2 separate regions of the Homo sapiens genome follow, and region 2 is linked to region 1. The links are contacts of gene promoters, found by promoter capture Hi-C in human tissues and cell types (Jung and others, 2019). All regions are on one chromosome and are shown on one strand. The core of a region is centred on a gene start or on the middle of the fragment in contact, and the rest is flanking DNA. Distances in the headings are between cores, read along the strand shown. Region 1 holds the start of NEUROD1 (neuronal differentiation 1). Region 2 overlaps ITGA4 (integrin subunit alpha 4).

What was found. Contacts are between HindIII fragments. The study calls those that stand out against the background at their distance.
Region 2: a contact is called between a fragment that was not itself captured here and the fragment with the promoter of NEUROD1 in region 1, in 1 of the 25 tissues and cell types used here (lymphoblastoid cells).

The regions. Positions count from the first base shown.
Region 1 is chr2:181,678,228-181,682,629 of GRCh38, reverse strand. It overlaps NEUROD1 (neuronal differentiation 1), which reads left to right and starts at 2,113. Exons shown (of 2, transcript NM_002500.5): 1 at 2,113-2,200; 2 at 3,759-4,402. The coding sequence starts at 3,770. RefSeq lists an enhancer at 887-1,463. The HindIII fragment of the contact is 10,799 bases long and covers 1-4,402 here.
Region 2 is chr2:181,469,441-181,473,842 of GRCh38, reverse strand. All of the region lies in intron 2 of ITGA4 (integrin subunit alpha 4), which reads right to left. Among named protein-coding and RNA genes, the nearest start is that of ITGA4, 14 kb to the right of the region's middle. The HindIII fragment of the contact is 5,063 bases long and covers 1-4,402 here.

The DNA of each region.
Region 1 (4,402 bases), core at 864-3,363:
CAAACGTCGGGCTGTGTACTATCTTCTAAGGGCTAGTACTCCGACGCCCTCGAGTTTTAGCCCAACACTGAAGATACAGACAGTACAGGGGTAAATCCTGGGCCCAGGCTCCTGGGTGAATTATTTTATCCTCCCCTATGCGCTTTGTCAGCCAAGTGAATGTAGAAAAGCAAGCAAAACTCCAGAACCCCACAACGATTCACGCCACGCTTCGGTGGCACAACTCTTTTCTTCCCCTTTTAGATTAGTACTGTGCAGGGAAGGCTGCACCTGCTACCTTCAGACACCGGGGATCTGGCTAGGACCCTCTTCCTCTACCCCTACTCTCTCCTCCCGTCCCCACCCTCTCCCAGATGCACCCCAATCCAGCCTCTCAACCCTGTCGCTGTTTGCAAACTCGAGGGATGTTTAGTGCAATTGCCTTTAAATAAGCAATTCACGTAAGAGGTATTTATTGCAGAGGGTTTCAGGTCTGGGAGGGGGTAAGGAGTTAGTTAATGAAGGATTAGAGGCAAAGCTGGGAAAGAACGAGTAGACAGGCCAGTTTCTTTCTTTCTTTTTAAAATCTATTATTCTGGAAAACCCTTGTTCGAAAAGAGTAAAGAATTGCTATTTGGGCAACAATATGGCTCCTTCAGAACTGGTCGAGAATTTCTGTGGTCTTTGCTTGACCTTCAAGTTGGGAGTTTCAAATCAGAGGCTTTGAAGTCTGGAGGAGTTCGCAGCCATTAATCCTTCCGGGGTTGTGCTAAAGGCGTTTCTAGAAAGAGATCGGAAAGACCCGTTCAGCACAGGCCCATTGCATCTTCTCTTTGAAAACGCTTGTCTGAATCAAGTATCTTATACAGACCCGAGACTGAGGGGAGCAAGAGCGCAGGTCCGGCTGTGGCGAGGTGTCCACCACCGTACTTGTGGTCAATGCCTGGACTAGAGAGCCGAGGCCGTCCAGGGCGGGCTGGCCAGGGAACCAGAAGCGTCCCTGGACTGGCTGAGTGAGGGTGCCCTTTCCAGCAACCCAGTGGCCATGGTTAAAAGGCAGAATACAACCGTCAAAGAAGTCCCCAGCTCCCACATAAGAGAGCGCAAAGGCCAATGGAACCAAGGCCTCCTCGCGAGAACTAGCTCGCTTTGAGGACAAGATCCTGGGGATGGAGGTGGGGACTGACGTAGTGAGAGGGTCTGGAGGAACAGTCGTAGCTGAAGGTCAGGACATGAAGAATTGCACGTATGGTAGGGATAGAATGGCAGGTACAACTTTTCTGTACTGAAGGAACTGGGAGAGGACGATCCGGTTAGGGAGGTTGGGGAACTAATCTCAACGCTGCGTTTACAGATGAAGCCGCTTTTATATGGCGTATATGTTTGCTTAGAGGGGCCGACGGAGATTAGGAGAAGCCATCCTTTGGCGCCAATGATCAAAGCGTCTGCCAAGGAGAAGAAGCCAAGGGATGGGCCTTTCAGAGAGGGCAAGGAGTCATGCTGCTCTGGATGCCAGTGTCAGGACAAGAAATCGAAAGGAGCGAGGACTCTTCACTGCGTGCCTCAGTCTCCCCGCTTCTGCCTCTTTCACCTCTGTCCTACTTCCGGCGCGAAAGCAGGCCACTCGCTCTGATCTAGACCTAGTTAACATTAGCTTTTCCCTTCCTTCCCTCAAATCCCCTCCCCCCTCTATCCCCGTCCCTTCTGCCGCCTGAAAGGGTTAATCTCTCCTGCGGGTAAAAACAGGTCCGCGGAGTCTCTAACTGGCGACAGATGGGCCACTTTCTTCTGGCCACAAAGGGGCCGGAATGGAGCGCTCCGCGGCATACAAATGGGCAGGTCACGTGGTTCCAGGCTCTTGGCTGGACCGGGAAGACCATATGGCGCATGCCGGGGAGGAAGGAGGAGGGGCGGGGGTAGGGGTGGAGGGTGAGGGGAGCGGTTGTCGGAGGAGGGCGGGAGACGAGCAAGGCGTGGGGAGAAGTGGGGAGGAGGGGAGAACGGGGAGCGCACAGCCTGGACGCGTGCGCAGGCGTCAGGCGCATAGACCTGCTAGCCCCTCAGCTAGCGGCCCCGCCCGCGCTTAGCATCACTAACTGGGCTATATAACCTGAGCGCCCGCGCGGCCACGACACGAGGAATTCGCCCACGCAGGAGGCGCGGCGTCCGGAGGCCCCAGGGTTATGAGACTATCACTGCTCAGGACCTACTAACAACAAAGGTAATTACAGTTCTTTCATTTTTTTGCCCCAGAATAGAAGCAATAACTGAAGACTGATGAACCTACATATTCTGTATGTGTGCGTTTGCGAGAGTGTGTATGTGTATTGAGACCAGCATCCCCCTCCATAATTGCCCATAAGTACTCACACATAATGAGTCGTGTCACTCAAGTACCCCCTGCAGGCTTTCTAATTTAAATTTTAAAAATTTGGGTTTCTTTTGTGGATAGCATAGGAGCTTCTTGGATTTTTTAAAAGAATGCACGGTAACTATGATTATCTGCTAGTGCTGATTTTAAAGTCCCAAAAGCAATAATGACTTCACTTTCTCACTTCTTACAGTAAGAAAAAAAAATCTATGTTATCAATATATATTTTGTGTGCATGTATTTTACGCACATTGGGAGTGTCAAGCTGTGTTTTCAGTGAATGAAAGGGACATGGATACCTTGAGTATTCACACCATGGAAAATAAATCAGGTTCAGAGATAGTTTAGTTGAGAGGGGGGAAAGTGGAGAAAGGGAGAGGGACTCACTCCTGCTACCTGTTACCGCTCCAGAGGCGGCCAAGTCCCCAGCAGCCACTACTGGAGCCAGAAATTCAGTTGTTTTACTAAAGGCTTTTTATTTTCCTTACTAGAAGCGGCAACTTCGCGGTTGCCAATCGCTGACCATTATAATTACTCAATCTTTTAAAGGGAGGTTTGAGGCGAACTTTGAAAAGCCCCAATAAAGAGCGGGCGGCCCTTTCAATGGGCTGTTTATTAGAGAGGAGCCTTCCGCACCTGATCCCCGGCGCGTGGGAGAGCGCTCTGCGCCGCGCCCCCAGCCCTCGCCCTGCAGCTAGCGCTTTTGTACAAGGTGGAAATTTAGCGGTGGGCCAGAGATGGAAGGCAAGAAAAGAAAGGCGAGGGAGGGGTGGAAGACCCTGTCCACTTTTGTTGCCAAATGTTACATTGATGGTGAAACAATTTGGTGGAAACTATTTTTCCTCCTTTCTGCATTTGCTTTTCAGTATCCCGTCGATGTAATCTTCTTAAAAATCGCTGCCAGTATTAGTAAATTACGCAATGGCTGTTCAACTTAAATCGCTAAGTATCTGGAAGCCAGGACAGAAATGGAAGTAGAATGTGTGATTTTACAGCTTTTTTTTTTTTTTATGGAGTTGTGAGTAACTTTGAACACATTTGGATAAACATGAAGTCGCTGAAATGTACAGTCATTTCCACACACATTATCCTGTCGGGCAACCACCATAAACACATTTAAGTTAATCACTAGGATACAAACACATATGCGTGAGTGGTGTACACATATACATATTCACTACCCTCCCCCAGTCCTGTCCTCACTCCTACGTACTAGCGGGGCACACGCACGCGCCATTATAAAACACTGCATTTAACTTTTTCTCAGAGGCATTCATTTTGTAATGGGCAGGTACTTTTCGCAAGCATTTGTACAGGTTTAGGGAGTGGAAGCTGAAGGCGTATCTGGCTTTTGAATATAGCGTTTTTCTGCTTTTCTTTCTGTTTGCCTCTCCCTTGTTGAATGTAGGAAATCGAAACATGACCAAATCGTACAGCGAGAGTGGGCTGATGGGCGAGCCTCAGCCCCAAGGTCCTCCAAGCTGGACAGACGAGTGTCTCAGTTCTCAGGACGAGGAGCACGAGGCAGACAAGAAGGAGGACGACCTCGAAACCATGAACGCAGAGGAGGACTCACTGAGGAACGGGGGAGAGGAGGAGGACGAAGATGAGGACCTGGAAGAGGAGGAAGAAGAGGAAGAGGAGGATGACGATCAAAAGCCCAAGAGACGCGGCCCCAAAAAGAAGAAGATGACTAAGGCTCGCCTGGAGCGTTTTAAATTGAGACGCATGAAGGCTAACGCCCGGGAGCGGAACCGCATGCACGGACTGAACGCGGCGCTAGACAACCTGCGCAAGGTGGTGCCTTGCTATTCTAAGACGCAGAAGCTGTCCAAAATCGAGACTCTGCGCTTGGCCAAGAACTACATCTGGGCTCTGTCGGAGATCCTGCGCTCAGGCAAAAGCCCAGACCTGGTCTCCTTCGTTCAGACGCTTTGCAAGGGCTTATCCCAACCCACCACCAACCTGGTTGCGGGCTGCCTGCAACTCAATCCTCGGACTTTTCTGCCTGAGCAGAACCAGGACATGCCCCCCCACCTGCCGACGGCCAGC
Region 2 (4,402 bases), core at 1,230-3,729, 210 kb after region 1:
GAACACTTACAGAGATACAAACTAATATTTTTATTTTGGTACCAATGGGGGTCTCACTATGTTACCCATACTGGTCTTGAACTCTTGCCTCAAGTGATCCTCTTGCTTTGACCTCCTAAAGTGCTGGGATTACCAGCATAAGCCACTATGCCTGGTAAGGCTAATATTTGAGAAGTGAAATTATTTGCACTAAGTCTCCTGGGTAGGAGAGATTTTGTTTAAGGAGTGTGGGAAGATGTTTGTTTATACTTTCGTTTTCTAAAATGTCATTCAGGAAAAACAAAACCTTTAATCACAACTGAAGTGAAGAAAATGTTTGAGCTCCTCCTCTGGAGATTCTGCTCCAGCAGATCCAGGTGAGGCCCTGATTACCCTAGGTCAGTGGTTCCCAATCTTTTTGGCACCAAGGACTGGTTTCGTGAAGACAATTTTTTCCATGGGCAGTAGTAAGGTTTGGAATGAAACTGTTCCACCTCAGATCATCTGGCATTAGATTCTGCTAAGGAAAGCACAACCTAGATCCCACGGCTGTGCAGTTCGTAATAGGGTTTGCACTCCTACGAGAATCTAATGCCACCACTGATCTGACAGAGGCAAAGCTCAGGCGGGAATGCTCACTGGTCCACTGCTCACCTCCTGCTGTGCAGCCCAGTTCCTACCAGGCCACGGGCCAGTACCCATCCACAGCCCAGGGATTGGGGACCCCTGCCCTAAGTGGTTCTCATGGTCAGGAACACTGTTACTGTGAAATGCAGAGAATGTTTTTCTCGACAGCATACACATAGAATAAATGGCAACCCCCACTAACTGGTAATGGCTTCCTGGAGAACTAGACTGAAGGGAGGAGGACTAAGACTAGGTCTGGACAAAGAATGCTGGGGTTGATTGGCAATGGTTGCTATTAGAATTGGAAAGGAGTCTTGCTGTGGCCCAAACCTTGGTAAAGAACAGTCCAGGTGGACACATAAGGTCTCCGTGTTAACTTGAGAAAGGAAGGGATGAAGAGAGAAATGACACGAAAAGAGAAGGGGAAAACAGAGGGAAGATGGTAGGAGAAAAAAAATTGTGTGTGGGAGATAGGTAAGGTCTAAAATAGGGAGTTGTTATTGTGGCTACCTAATGCCAAACCAACAAAATTTAAATTAAAAGAGAATGACAAACAAGGCATTTTAATTTTCATTATAATACAATTTTCAGTTTTCACTAAAATCAATTGTTTACTGTCAAAAATAGATAACAAATGGTAGATTCAGTCTACATGAAGTTCCTGTTATTTACTACAATAGCCATGTTAATAAGTTCCCTCTGAAAATACTAAAATTTTTATGAATTTATAGTCAACACTCAGTTAAGACAATTGAGCAAGAAGAAAATTAAGGACAGGAGAGGATGGGGGTCACAAATAATATGGCGTGTATAATAGACACTTTCATTACGATTACATCCAATATTTAGAAACAAATCTATTATTCTAGAGAGAGCCACCCAGAAGATTAAAAAGACAATAGTTTAGAACCACAATGTACCATGTAAATAGCTTAATGAAAATGGCCAAAAAATTATGTGCAAAAATAGTGTATTGTTATCGGTTTCTTAGCTGAACTGTTTTGTAAATTTCTAAGTGAAGACTAGACAAACTCTTGCATTATGAACTCTTATCTATTTAATATTCTGCATTGCCTCCTTCTTGTTTTAGTTTTAGCTCCATCAGGTAACATCACAATGTCATCACTGCCCAGGCTCACACTGAGGTTTACACACACCACAAACTACTCACTTTCTCACTTACTAACATCACTTCCCTGAAACTTCTTTCTCTCCACATGAGTGCCTCTCAGCTCTCTGGGAAAAGGGCCACTAAATCATTAGGCTATTTTAAGATGTGTCCCATGTAGTCTCACCAAAGTCCTGGGACTTTATTTCCAGTGTGGCTCATGCCCTTCCCTTCTTCTTGTTCTAGGCTAAAAATAATGATTCTTAGAAATAGGAGAACAATTAGCCCTCCAGAAGCCACAAGAAAGAGATGTTTACTTAAGAATAAATGTAGGAAGAGCTTTCCCAGGAAGCCAGTGATGTGGTTCATTCACCCGTGAGCAGAAGAGATTCCAAATAGAAAAACATATGGCAGGTGTGTAAGTGGGAAATTGGTGGGGTGGGGGTCAAAATGCCACTAGATGTAATCTCATATCTGTTACAATGTGGTTCCAAACAATAGTTGCCTTCTAATATATAGATAAAATTTCTGATTCATTAATTTTCAAATATCTCCTATACAGTTGTTAGTTAATCCACTCTTAGATACTGAAAGATGACTCTCAACATCAGCACTCAAGGGTTCTTAGACACACAGGATGCGATCACTCAGAGGAAATTGTGGTGAAATTGATTAATATCTTGTAGGAATAAGTATTTTCATTTTTGTTAAGGTTAACTACATTTATTTATTTACAATGTTTCTGGCCTATTTCCAAGGCTTAGTAAATAGTGACCTCATTCATCTTGCCCAGGACTGTATCTTTGTCATAATCCCACCCCCGACAAACAGCCCAGAAATGGGTGCTGAAATGGAAAGGTCAGTAAACGAAAAACAATTCAAAGCTTCTATTATGGTTTGACTAAACATCTTCTGCTTATTTCATATATCTTAATTCAAAATGTGTGTAAAAAGAATGAATGCATAGCCAGAAAGAAAGTTCATGGAAATAGTCATGAAACAATCATTCTTCCACAGAAGAAAAACCAATCTTAATAAGTGAGCAAATACATATACTACATTTAGATATGTTTCCCCTTTTCACTTCTTAACACTGTTTTTACCATAGAGGCAGCCCCCAACAGCAATAATATTGAGGTAACTTTCAAGTACTGGTTACAGGTTAGAATCTGTTCAGAGAACATCCTGTAATTTCCCCTAGTGTTCTGGGTTTTTTCTTAATTTCTGGGACTTTTTCTCTTTTTATTTTTTAGGGAGATAGGATCTCACTCTGTCATCTAGGCTGCAGTGCATTGGCGTGATCATAGCTCACTGCAGCCTCAAACTCCTGGGCTCTTGTAATCCTCCCACTTCAGCCTCCTATGTAGCTGGGGATATAGGTGCCCACCACCATGCCCAGCTTCTCTTTTCTTTTGTTGTGCCTGCGGAATCTTGGTAGAAGAAGTAAGACTGCTACATGATCAGCTTGTGATCATGGCCTTCTCCAAAGCTTTTCTCCCTTAACCTGTGTGATCCTGAGTCCACTCCTTTTCCACTCAGTACTCAGCCTTGACTGGACGTTAGAATCAACTGAAGGGAGTTTGAAACCAGTACCTCCACTTGGGCCCCACTCTTAGAGGCTCAGACTTGACATGTCTGGGTTAAGAACCAGACATAAGAATTTTTTTGAAGCCCCCCAGGTAGTTGTAGCATATGGTTGGGCTTGTGAACAATAGCTCTACAATGTAGCTCAGGGGTGTCCAATATTTGGTTTCCCTGGGCCATACTGGAAGAATTGTTTTGGGCCATACGTAAAGTACACTGACACTAATGATAACTGATCAGCTAAAAAAAAAATTGCAAGAAAATCTCATATTTTTTTTCCTCTTTGACATATTGATTTTATTTTCTTTGGATATATACCTTCAGTGAGATTGCTGAGTCTTGTAATAGTTCTATTTTTAAATTTTTGAGGAATCTCCATACTATTTTCCATTATAGTTATACTTACTTTCCCATCAACAGTGGGCAAGGGTTCCCCATTTTTCCACATTCTTGCCAACATTTATATCTTTTTTTTTTATTATTATACTTTAAGTTCCAGGGTACATGTGCACAACATGCAGGTTTGTTACATATGTATACATGTGCCATGTTGGTGTCCTGTACCCATTAACTCGTCATTTACATTAGGTATATCTCCTAATGCTATCCCTCCCCCATCCCCCCACCCCACGACAGGCCCCGGTGTGTGATGTTCCCCTTCCTGTGTCCAAGTGTTCTCATTGTTCAATTCCTACCTGTGAGTGAGAACATGCGGTGTTTGGTTTTTTGTTCTTGTGATAGTTTACTGAGAATGATGATTTCCAATTTCATCCATGTCCCTACAAAGGACATGAACTCATCCTTTTTTATGGCTGCATAGTATTTCATGGTGTATATGTGCCACATTTTCTTAATCCAGTCTACATTGATGGACATTTGGGTTGGTTCCAAGTCTTTGCTATTGAGAATAGTGCCGCAATAAACATACATGTGAATGTGTCTTTATAGCAGCATGATTTATAATCCTTTGGGTATATACCCAGTCATGGGATGGCTGGGTCAAATGGTATTTTCTAGTTCTAGATCCTTGAGGAATCGCCACACTGTCTTCCACAATGGTTGAACTAGTTTACAGTCCCATCAACAGTGTAAAAGTGTTCCTAT